Linked DNA regions of Homo sapiens: region 2 is linked to region 1. Evidence: promoter capture Hi-C in human tissues and cell types (Jung and others, 2019). All regions are on one chromosome and are shown on one strand. The core of a region is centred on a gene start or on the middle of the fragment in contact, and the rest is flanking DNA. Distances in the headings are between cores, read along the strand shown.

Region 1 (6,170 bases), core at 1,424-3,923:
AGAGTAGCTGCCTCCACTCCTGAGACCCCAGGACTCTCTCTGCAGTGTCTGGCCTGACATCGGCCAGAGGGATTTGCAGGAGTGGAGCTGGCCCTACATCCCAAATAGGCTGAACAGGAACCACGGCCCCTCCTCTTCTGGAAGTTGGAGGAAGAGTGGGAATGCAGTTTGTACTGCTCTAAATAAGAACTGGTTCCACTCCCAGCTCAACCCTCCTCCGCTGTTAGACTCATGGTGAGAGGGCCCCCTCTAGGAGTCTTTAGTCCCGGGAGTTAAACAACATTGCCCTACATCTTCTAAGAGCAGTCCCAGCCCAAGCGCTAAGGATGCACCCTCTAAGGAAGAGCCTCTCAGCTCTGAGTCATGGAAAGGGCAATAGCTCTGCAACTGTGGCTGCAAATATTTCCTTGAAGGACACTGAACCATGCAGAGACATGTGCTGTGACAGCCAATGTATGTCTTTGTGGCAGAATGCACTCGTGTCACTCCTGTAAACCTGTGTACACATGGCCAGCTGTCTGGTACATATACAGTTTATGTGTGAACACATGAGATTGTGTGTGGAGCTCCCACGTTTACATGGCCTGGTATCTATGTGCTCTCAGTCACTCACATGTACATTCTGTTCCTGAATCTGTGGGGATTCTGTGGCTGGAAGATTGGTCCAGTGTGTAATCAGGAATGGCTGTGCTCAGGGGGACAATGAACACGTGCACACTTGCCCTTCAATGTGTCGGCATTGTGAAGGTCAAGGACTGCTTGTTACTGCTCTCGTGCAGGAAATACTCAGAATGCTCAGCCTGACACCTCCAGCCTGTCCCCTTCAACCCTGGTGTGGAACATATCCACCAGAGGATAGAGCTTCCTCTGCCCCGAGGCTCCCCTGGGTTCCCAGGGTTCTCCCACACGGAAGGCCCTCGCTGGCCCTGTCAGAGCTCTCTGCCTGCCTCACCTGCGACACCATCTGGACCCCAGCACCCCCTTATCTAGGGTCCCAGGACACAGAGCAGGGAGCCTGCCTTCCCCTGGGACAACAGGATGTAAAATAGCAGAGTCCAGACGCTGCCAGCTGTTTCCCTCCTCGATTTCCTATTCTCCTGGGGAAAGCTGAGGTGAGCTCAGGACAGCGCAGCTAAGAGTTCCCTCCTTCTCTCCCTGACAGGCTCCTGCGATGGCAGGGGTTCCCAGAGGGTACCCATGCTTGCCCAGCTCCATCTGCCCTCCTGAGAACAGCAGCCAGCGTGACGACGGAGGTGGGGGCAGATTCAGCCCCAGGAGCCTTGGGGCACACTCCTTCTGCAGGAGCCTCTAGGCACCAAGTCAGGCAGACATTGGACAGTGCTCTCTGGGGAGGGCAGGAAGAGCCCCCCACCCCACCCCTCAGGGCCCACCACAGAGAAGGACGCAGCCCGAGTCCATCAGAATTCACACACACACACACACACACACACACACACACACACACAGTCGTGAGACAGAGGCAGCGCCACACACCCGAGAAGGGAAAGACTCAGAGAAGCGACACACTTGGGTCTGAAAAGCTCTTAAGGAGCTCCCTAAGCATCGAGGCCGCCCTCTCGGCCAGAATCAAACACTTTGAAGGTCTTTAATAGGGAACAAAGACCACGGACTTCCCATGTGCCATTTAAAGTGAAAGCTACAAACACAGAAAATGTGCATGAAGAAGCCCAACAGAGTTCTGACTGTCTGTGATTTCTACCCTGATGCTTCAAAAACCGATGTATAGATGGGCTCACCCGCATTTTTTGTGGCCCTGGTTTGCTGATACCCTAAGCACCTCCTTAAGCCCCACAGCTGGGCCGCTTTCCCCACCCTCGAGTTCTCAGAAGAAACAGAGGCTCGGTGGAAAAGAGCCCCTGGGGCTAGGGACCTCCCACTCCCGCCGAGATCCCGCGCGGCTGTTCCCAGAGCCTTAGCTGCGCTCGGCTCACCTGGGGTGCAGGTCCACCAGCAGCACCAGCGTCTGCATGGTGATCACGTCGATGCGCTTGCAATGGAAGCGGGCCACCTTGAGCACCTTGAGGTACGTGCAGCAGAGCACGACGAAGGAGAGCAGGAAGCTGAGAGCGTGGAAGGCGCCAGTGAAGACGGCGAAGCGCAGGCGCTCGTCTGGCCGCCGGCTGCACAGCGTGCACGAGGCGTACAGCTGGTGGAAGCCGAGCCAGGACAGGGCGAGCGCGGCGGCTGGGAAGGTGAGCGCGTGCAGCCACGTGTAGGCCACCATGAGCGCCGCGTCGCGGAGGCGCATCTTGGCCCGGTAGCTCAGCGGGAAGACCACGGCCACCCAGCGGTCGATGCTGAGCGCGGCCATGCTGAGCATGGAGTTGGCAGCCAGGAAGGTGTCGAGGAAGGCAGCCAGGCGGCACAGGCGGTCGCCCGCCGGCTGCCGCTGCGCCACGACGCCGGCCAGCGTGAGCGGCATGTTGACCACGGTGCACAGCAGGTTCCCGCACGTGAGGTTCAGGGTGAAGAGCGCCGGCGCCTGGCGGCGGATGTCCGCGCTGTGCAGCAGGCAGAGCAGCACCAGCGCGTTGGACAGCAGCGAGACGCCCATCGTGCCCACCAGTAGCCCCGCCAGGCCCGCGTCCCACGAGTTCATGGTGCGCGCCCCGCGCCGGCGCTCAGGGTCCGCAACCCGGCGCCGCCATGGCGCTGCCCGCGGCCGGCTCAGCCCCTCGGCGCCGCCGCCGCCCGGCGACCACCGGCCCCAGCCGCCATGGCTCCCAGGAGGGCGCGCGGCCACCCCGGAGCCTCAGGCGGCCTCCCGGGCAGGCGTCTGGGCGCGCAGCCACCCGGGAGCCCCGCGCCGCCTCACGGGCAGGCACCTGGCGCGCGGCAGTGAACCCTGGCCCCCAGCAGCACCTCTGGAGCCAGCGACTGAGCGTGCGGTAGAACCCGAAGCCTTTAGCGCCCCGGGATCCTGGGTTGCAGGCACCTGCGCCCCTGCTCCGCCTCTGCCTCTGCTTCCTCCCGCTCTCACCCCATGCCCGCGAGCTCTGTCTCCGCTCCGCTCCGCGCACCCTCCCGCTCTCTTGCTTTCTCTCTTCCTCCCTCTCTGCTCTCTGGCTCGCTCTCTCTCTCTCTGCTCTCCCCTCCACCTCTCTCCCTCTCCCCGCCCCCCGCGCTGTTCTCTCCGTCTGTCTCTCCCACCCCCAATTTTCTCCCCTCTCTTGTTCTTCCCCCTCCTCTTCTCTCTGTCTCTGGAATCTGGCTGCTTCTATCACAGAAATCCCCACTGGTGCACACACAGACACACTCGCGCACACACACTCACACTTACAGGCTCGGAGGGAACCAGCCCCGAAGGCTCCGGTGCAGGGTGATTGGCTCACTGTGGCTCCCTTCCCCCAACATCCTCCATCCCCCCGTGTGTGTCAAAGACAGGCTGAGTCAAGGAAATCTCTCTGAGAAAAGGAAGGGATGCCTGGACACCTTCACGCCCCAGTGCCACCTGTCCCCGCCTGCATGCTATCCTGGCAGACCTTGACGTGAGTGTCCCAGCCTGTCTGTCCCAAGAACAGCTGCTGCATGACTGAGGTTACTCGATTCTCAGTGCCTTCTTTCCCTCGCCCTACAGCCAGAGCTTCGGCTGAATCCTAAGCCTGCTGCAGGGACCCCGAGGCTCTCTGTAACATCCCCTGGGCATCTCTCCAGCTGGGAGATGCCTTTGCTGACCCTGACTGCTCCCACCTGGGCAAGCCAGGCTGTCCACAACCAGCCTAGACAGCTAACCCTAGTATGGTGGATACTCTGTTGTCCTGCTCCAAGTTCCAGCAGCTGCCTCCTGTAGCCCTGAAGCCACACACCCCTCTGCCCTGAGACTGGTGAGGCAGCACATTCTAGTTTATGAGGGACCTGCCTGATATAAGGTGCCAGAACTCTTCAGAAAATGGGGAGGGTGTCAGCTGGCAGGCATGGTCCAAGCAACAGAGACCCTGGACACAGGGGACCCCTGCCTCCCCTCAGCAAAGTGTGCAGGGACTGTGGCCCTTCGGTTCTCAACCAAGACTCTGTGGGGAAGGGGTGGGGATGGACAGGCAGGGGCAGCTCTCAGAACCCCTGCAGCCCCCTTCAACTCTGTGAGATGCTGCCCTGCAGTGACCCCCTGCACCATGTCAGCAACCTCAGATCCCTGTCCTGGACATAGAAAGCCCTGTTCTGGAGCCTCCTGGTGTGGCCAGTGGTGACTGGACATTCCTGGGCCTCAAGCCACTAGATAAAGTAAGCCAAGCAAGGACGTGGTGGACTCTACGCCCTGAAGGTAGAGACCTCATTATACTTAATTATCTCCTTCACATAGTACCAAGCACATTGTAGATGCTGTATTGTGCCATTTTTCTTTGCTGTAAAGGAATACCTGAGATTGGGTAATTGATGAAGAAAAGAGGTTGAATTGGCTCATGATTCTGCAAGGTATGCAATCATGGCTCCAACATCTGCTCAGCTTCTGATGAGGGCCTCAGGAAGCTTCTAATCATGGCAAAAGGCAAAGTGGGAGCAGGCATGTCACATGGCAAGAGTGAAAGCCAGAAAGAGAAGGGGGAGGTCCCAGGCTTTTAAACACCATATCTCTCATGGACTGAGAAGTCATTCAGGATGGTGCCAACCCATTCATGAGGGCTCTGCCCCCATTATCCAATCGCCTTCGCCTCCCACCAGGGCCCACCTCCAACATTGGGGATTATGTTTCAACATGAGATTTGGAGGGGACAAACATCCAAACTTTATTAAATGCTCATGAAATGAGGTGTCAGGAGGGCAGAAACAAGATTCCCTCTCTTCTCTGTGTGTCCACAGATGACACTCATTGACAGTTATCTGAGTGACTGACAGCTGCAGACAGTGGAGTTCTGAAGCCAGCTCACACCAGCTCAAAAGGGCCCATTATGGGCATCTCTCTCCATCTCTGCTTCAGTGACAGCATGTTGGTTGCTTAAAATCCACCACAATGAGTTTTTGCATTATAGAAATCAGCAAACTCCATAGATCAGGGCTTCTCCCACCCCAGCCTGTGGTTAAACATTTAACGACACACCACTCACTGATTTCATAGGACCCTGGGCAACTTACTCAACATCCCTGAGGCTAGGTTTTCTTATTTACCTTTCAGAGCCGTGGTGATGACTACATAAGGTAATGTGTACGTTTAGCTTTGCTTCCCAGAGAAGGAAACAGGGCAGAATGCTAGCAATATCATCAACCCTTGGCCCCCTCATGTAGCCTACAGATTTTAGTGTTGGCTACATGTCTCATTAAATACCTGTTATATGACAGCAGAGGACGCTGTTCATCTGTGTGTCTCTCCTGCTGCCAAGGAAGTGTCCCCTACAAATAGCTCCTGGCAGGAGATAGGAGCTATTTGTGCTATAGTTTGAATGTGTCCCCCAAAGTTCATGTGTTGGAAACCTGACCCCCAATGCAACAGTATTGGGAGGTGGGTCCCAATGGGAGGTGTTTGACTCATGGAGGCACTGCCTTCATAAGTGGATTAGTGCCATTATCATGGGAATGGGTTCCTTATTAAAGGATGAGTTTGCCACCACCCCCTCCTTCTCTCTCTCTCTCTCTCCCTGTGTGTCTCCCTCCCTCTGCTCTTCCACTTTCTGCCAGGGGATGATGTAGCAAAAAGTCCCTCACCATATGCCAGCCCCTGAATTTTGGACTTCCCAGCCTCCAGAACCATGAACAATAAATTTCTATTCATTACAAATTACCAAGTCTCAGGTATTCTGTTATATCAGCACAAAATAGACTAAGATAGTGCCCAAGTACTGTCTGTGGAGTAAATCAGCCAATGTTTTGGGGTCACTATTGGATCTGTGATTCTCACACTTTTGTGTGTATCAGAGTCACCTGGTAAGCCTGGGGTGCTGGTTAAAGAGTTTGATTCCTGGGCCACACCCCCTGGGGTTTCCAAATCAGAAGGTCTGGAAGTCTGCATTTTCATGAGCTCCTTAGATAGTTCTGGTGAGGGTGGTCTGTGGTCATGCTCTCAGGAGTGTGCTCTATGAGAAATGGTCAGGGTAAGCCACTGGATGCCAAACAATCACCTGGGCACATCCTCCAACCATGACCTGATGTTCTGGCCTGGAGGCACTCACTGAAGCCTCACCAGAGACTCTAGACATGCGGGATCCCATTTATATTTT
Region 2 (6,170 bases), core at 1,861-4,360, 72 kb after region 1:
TTGCTTTACATTGCTTCCAGCAGATTCCAAATCTGCACCAAACCCTCTTGGAAATAGGGCCATGACTTCCTTTTCATCCCACCAGAGAGAAAGGCAAGTGCATCAAAGGCGACCCAGCCACCGTTCATTTCCTCCCCACTGGGTTTTTATTTTTAAAAAGCAAACAAATAAACCACCCGCCCCCCCAAAGATGTAGATCTACTCTGCAAATAATGTAAATAATAATTAGAAAATTCTAGATAATAAAGGGCATTTTTTAGAACTTTTGCATCCCAAATCTTACAGAGTAGAATGCGTTCTGGAGAGGTCCTGGCAATAGTTGAGGCTGAATGTGGATGCAAAGACTCTACTTCCCATCTATACGGTGAAGCCCTAGCTGCACAGTTACCCAGGGAGACCCCTGTTGAATTTGCCCCAGGTGACAATCCTAGTAACTCACATGTCTCAAGCTACACAAGCACACTTTTGTTAAAATCAGACCTCCCTGATCTGGTGCTAGAGGAAAGTGGAGTGCTCAGGGCCCTAGGAGCAAGTGATTTGAGAACAAAAACCTGGTGTTTCAGGAGTGGAGAATCCTGCCCTCCCCAGAAACAATGGTGAGTCCCTGGGCCCTGCCTCCTCATCCATCACCCTCAACTGTGACAGGCACGATGCCATGTGTTTTCTGCCTCCCCCTCCTCCATTCTTAGGCACAGAGTGAGGATGTCTGGGGACACCTCCTCATAGCTCTCCTTGGCCACAAAGCCGGTGGAGGACAGACACAGAGACAGTGCCACTTGTTGAGATCTGAGGGTGAGACACATGCCATCTTTGCAATTTGACATCTGGAGGTGCTAGGGTTGAAGGAAAGAGAGCCATTTTGGGAATTCTTCCTCAGCTGAGTTTTTGGGATAAAGAGTGAACCTGTAGGGCAGAGCAGCCATAGTGTCATCTGGCCAAAATATGCAGGTTGGAATGTGCCATGCCTGGACCCATGGAGCTAATTGGAAGGCTTATTGGTGAAGTTCAGAGACCACAAAGGAGATTCTGAGCACCCAATCTGTGGTTAGAGTAAGATCAGAGCAGTTCTGGGGCCCTCAGACGAGGGACCATGGGCCTTGTCCAGGTGTTTGTCATTGAAGTAGCCCAATTCCAAAGATCTCTGTGTGTCTCTTGGCACCAGGTTTCAAATAGTTGGATCAGGGAATGTGATTGGTCTGGCTTGGATCAAATGTCTCTACTTGGACCAACCAGTTATGGCCATGGGGACAAGATCACAAAGCCCAGAAAGCCCTTGGGGGCCACCCCTGTGAGTGGGGGCCACTTCTAAATGAGGAAAATGCCTGGGAGGTGGGCAGCCAGACCCTTTGTCCTCTTCCTCAACATGTGTGCCTACAAATATTTTCATATTTATGTCTGCTTTTTTGAGTGACTTTCTTGAAAGCAACTTTTCCTTCTGCTCCTCACATACCTATGAGGAAGCCAAACTGAGCATTTACCTCCAAAGAAGCAGCATTATTCTGCCCCTCTCATAACTTTCTTTAGATAAGAGGGGTTCCAAGGAATCATATTTCATAGATAAGAGCTGTTTTGCTATTGAAAGCCTTGTGGAAGCAGAACGACTCCAGTGAGCAACTATTGATGTGCCTGCCCACGTCCCAGGGCCTCTGGAGACACATGGGGTGATAAGTGTGCTGAGCAGGGTGTGGCTGGGCCCCTGCCAGGTGCTCAAAGTCCATCACTGACCACATGGAGTGACAGCACCTTCCCACCTTGGTCCTCAGAGCCTATCATCAGACCCAGCTATGCCCAGCCTCCTACCTGGTAGCCTGTTACTTCACTGAAGAGAAGGAGAAAGAAGACAAGCTTGCCCAGTAAAATCTGGGCAAGTAAAATCTGACCCAGTAAAATCTTGAAAGTAAAGTCTGACCTTTGGCTTCCTTCCTCACCTGTCCATTCTCAATAGGCAATGTTGCCCAGAAGGTGGCAAAAATTGGTTCTTTGGGGGAGAATAAAATCTTACTATTTTTATGTATGAAGCACAGATATGCATACATAACATAAATAGCTGTACAGTACATCTGTATTAAAATGTCATGGGGGTGGATCGATTAGGAAAACAGGTCTCAAAACGCTCCTTAGGGGGCGATATGAATAAAAATGTGTAGCAGTGCCTTCAGCGCTCTCCCTGAGTGGATGCTACTTCTACAGACATTGAACATCTTCCAGGGATGCTGTCCCTCCCAGCACCACAGATACACAGAGCAAAGATGCTGGTCCTCCCCTAGCTTCTCTCTTTTCAGGGATTGGAGACCCAGAGAGTGCAGGAGGTAGGTACCATGGAGACCAGATACTATCAGCCTATCATTAATCTTTGTCAGCTCTATTGAGGTAAAATTTGCATACAATCAAATTTGCCAATTTTAAGTGTACAATTCAATGAGTTTGACAAATATATCCACTAGTGGGATACCACTACAATCGTGATAGAGACTATTCCACCTCCCTGAAAAGGTCCTAAATGCCCCGTTGTGGTCAATCCCTTGCTACTCATCAGGCACTGGCAACCATTGATGTGATTTCCATTACTATAATTTCCTTTTAAAGTATTCCATATAAATGGAATCATATAATACATTGTTTTGTGTCTAGCTTCTTCACTTGACATAATACTTATGAGATGCACCCATGTTGAATATATTGGCAGTTTGCTCTTTTTTATAGCTAAGTGATATTTCACTCTATGGGTATGCCACAATGTGTTCATCTATTCACTAGTTGATGGACTTTGGGTTGTTTCTAGGTTTTGGATATTATGAATAAAGTTGTTATAAACATTAGTAGGCAGGGCCTTTGTGTGGACATATGTTCTCATTTGGTAAAGAGTGGAATGCCAGGGTCATATCCTACATGATTGTTTAATTTTCTAAGACACGTCAAAATGCTTTCTTCCTTTCTTTTTTTTTTTTTTTTTTTTTTTGAGACGGAGTTTTGCTCTGTCACCCAGGCTGGAGTGCAGTGGCGCATCTTGGCTCACTGCAAGCTCCACCTCCCGGGTTCACACCGTTCTTCTGCCTCAGCCTCCAGAGTAGCTGGGACTACAGGTGCCTGCCACCACACCTGGCTAATTTTTTATATATTTTTTAGTAGAGATTGGGTTTCACCGTGTTAGCCAGGATGGTCTCAATCTCCTGACCTTGTGGTCCACCCTCCTCGGCCTCCCAAAGTGCTGGGATTACAGGCGTGAGCCACCGTGCCTGGCCTCAAAATACTTTCTAAAGTGGCTGTACCATGAACCATGTATTAAAAATCCAACTGTTCCTCATCTTCACCAATATTTGGTGTTGTCCATCTCTTTAATTATAGTCATTTGTGTGTATGTGTGGGGGGGTGTGTAGCATTTCATTTTTGTTTTAATCTGCATCTCCCTAATGACTAATAATGTTGAGCATATTTTTGTTTCCTTACTTGCCATCTGAAAAACATTTTAGGTAAAGGGTCTGTCGGAATGTTTTGACCATTTTTAAAAGATAGGCAGATCACCTGAGGTCAGGAGTTCAAGACTAGCCTGGCCAACATGGTGAAACCCCATCTCTACTAAAATTACAAAAATTAGCTGGGCGTGGTGGTGGATGCCTGTAATACCAGCTACTCGGGGTGCTTAGAGAGGAGAATTGCTTGAACTCAGGAGGCGGAGGTTGCAGTGAGCCGAGATCACACCATTGCACTCCAGCCTGGGCAACAAGAGCAAAACTCCATCTCAAAAAAAAAAAAAAAAAAAATTGGGCTGTATTTTCTGGATGCAAGACTTTTGATTGGATCTATGTTTTGCAAATATTTTCTCCCAGGCTGTAGCTTACCTTTTCATCTTTTTAACATTATCTTTGAAAGAGCAGAAGTCTATAATGTTGGTGAAGTTCAATATTTATGTGTGTGTTTTCTTAAAATTTGTGCTTTTTGTGTCCTATTTAAAAATATTAACTTAATCCAAGGTCAAAAAAGGTTTTCTGCTCTTTTTTTTCTTCCAGAAGCACAATAGTTTTAGCTCTTGGATATAGGTTTATGACACTATTTGAGTTAATTTTTTATTCAATGTACAGTAAGGTTTGGGAACTTTTTTCTGTGTAGATATCCAGGTATTCCATTAACATTTACACATTGAATTGCCTTGGAGCCTTGTAAAAAATCAATTGACTATATATGTGTGAGTCTATTTCTGGAGTCTCTATTCTCTTTCATATATTTATATATGTATATATATGTATATATATGTATATACATATATATGTATATACATATATATGTGTATATATATGAAAGAGATGTATGTGTATATATATACATATATATACACACACATATATATATAGCCAAAATCCACACTGGCTTGACTACTGAAGCTTTTTAGTAAGCCTTGAAATCAGTTAGTACAAATCCTCCAATTTTGTTCATTTTCAGAATTGTTTTGGCTAGTCGACATCCTTTGTATTTTTATACAAATTTTAAATTGTTTTGTTAATGTCTACAAAGGACCCTGCTGAGATTTTGATTATGATAATATTTTAACTATAGGCCAATTTAGGAAAATTTATATCTTAGAATTAATGAGATTCTTATCCATGAGCATGGTATATCTCTATTTACTTAGATCTTCTTTAATTTCTCTCAAAACAGCTTTGTAGTATACATGTGTTGTATATCTTTTGTTAAATTTATTCCTAGATATTCATAATTTGGGTGTTATTTTAAATGTTTGAATGTGTCCTTTAAAAAGCACGTGTTGGAAACCTAATCCCCAATGCAAAAGTGATGGGAGGTGTTTAGGTTATAAGGTCTCCACCCTCATTAATGGATTAAATATTATTTAACTCCAATTTCCAATTATTTGTGGTTAGTATGGAGAAATACTGCTGACTTTGTATAACAACTTTGTACCCTATGATCTTGCTAAACTCATTTATTATTGCTAATAAATTTAAAAATATTTCTGCTGTGGTTTGAATGTGTTCCCCAAAAACCACGTGTTGGAAACCTAATTCCCAATGCAATGGTGATGGGAGGTGTTTAGGTTATGAAGTCTCCACCCTCATGAATGGATTAATGCATTTATAAAAAGGCTAAAATTAAGGCTGAAAGTTAAGCATCTTGCTCTCTCTCTCACCCTCTCTTTACCTTTCTGCCATGGGATGATATAACAAGCAAGGAAGCCATTGCCAGATGCCTGCCCCTTGATCTTGGACTTCTCAGCCTCCAGAATCAGGAGTCAAAACATTCCTGTTCTTTATAAATTACTCAGTCTGTGGTGTTCTGTTATAGCAGCACAAAATGAACGAAGAAACACTGTCAGTATTTTCTATATAGACAATCAGGTTGTCTGTGAATAAAGACAGTTTTACATTCCCCATTTTGTTCTTTTATTTCATTTTCTTCTGTTAATAAACTGACTATGACCTCCAGTACAATGTTGAACAAAAGTGTTAAGCAAAGACATTCTGGCCTGCTTTCTGATGTTAGGGGGAAAGCATCCAGACTTTTACCATTAAGACTGAGGTTAGCTGGAGATTTTTTCTAAACAATATTGAGGCAGTTCTTTTTGTTCCTACTTGTTGATAGTTCATGTCATGAATGGGTATGAAATTTTGCCAAATGCATTTTTTGCATATACTGAGGTGATAGTATTGTTTTTTATTTTTTGTTGGTTAATATAATGAATTATATTGATTGCTTTCTAAAAGTCATACTATGCATTTCTATGATAAATCCCATCAAGTCATAGCTTATTTTTATATACACTGATGCATTCAATTTAATACTATTTTGTTGAAGATTATAGAATTTATTTTAATGAGAAATTTTCATCTGTAGTTTTATGTCCTTATAATGTATATCACTGGTTTTGGTATCGGAATAATGATGGCCTCATAAATTAGTGGGAAAGTGTTTCTTATCATCCATTTTCTAGAAGAGTTTGTGTAGAGTTGGCATCATCTTCTCGTTAAATGTCTGGTAGCATACTCATCATTGAAGTCATGCAGCCCTGGAGTTTTCTTTGTGGAAAGGTGTTTTAACTACAGACTTAATTTTTAAATAGATTTAGGACATCAATTTTGTTGATCTTTTCAAAGAACCAAATTTTGGTTTCATTGATATTTCTCTACTCTTTTCTCTTTGTTTTCTATTTTACTAATTTC

Evidence for each region. Contacts are between HindIII fragments. The study calls those that stand out against the background at their distance.
Region 2: a fragment that was not itself captured here is called in contact with the fragment with the promoter of GPR26 in region 1 in 4 of the 25 tissues and cell types used here (H1 embryonic stem cells, heart right ventricle, mesendoderm cells and 1 more).

Annotation. Positions count from the first base shown.
Region 1 is chr10:123,662,858-123,669,027 of GRCh38, reverse strand. GPR26 (G protein-coupled receptor 26) reads right to left here and starts at 2,673. Exons shown (of 3, transcript NM_153442.4): 1 at 1,953-2,673. The coding sequence starts at 2,620. RefSeq lists enhancers at 1,851-2,388, 2,389-2,927, 2,928-3,465. The HindIII fragment of the contact is 11,073 bases long and covers 1-5,402 here.
Region 2 is chr10:123,591,395-123,597,564 of GRCh38, reverse strand. No RefSeq gene overlaps it. Among named protein-coding and RNA genes, the nearest start is that of GPR26, 72 kb to the left of the region's middle. The HindIII fragment of the contact is 5,225 bases long and covers 498-5,722 here.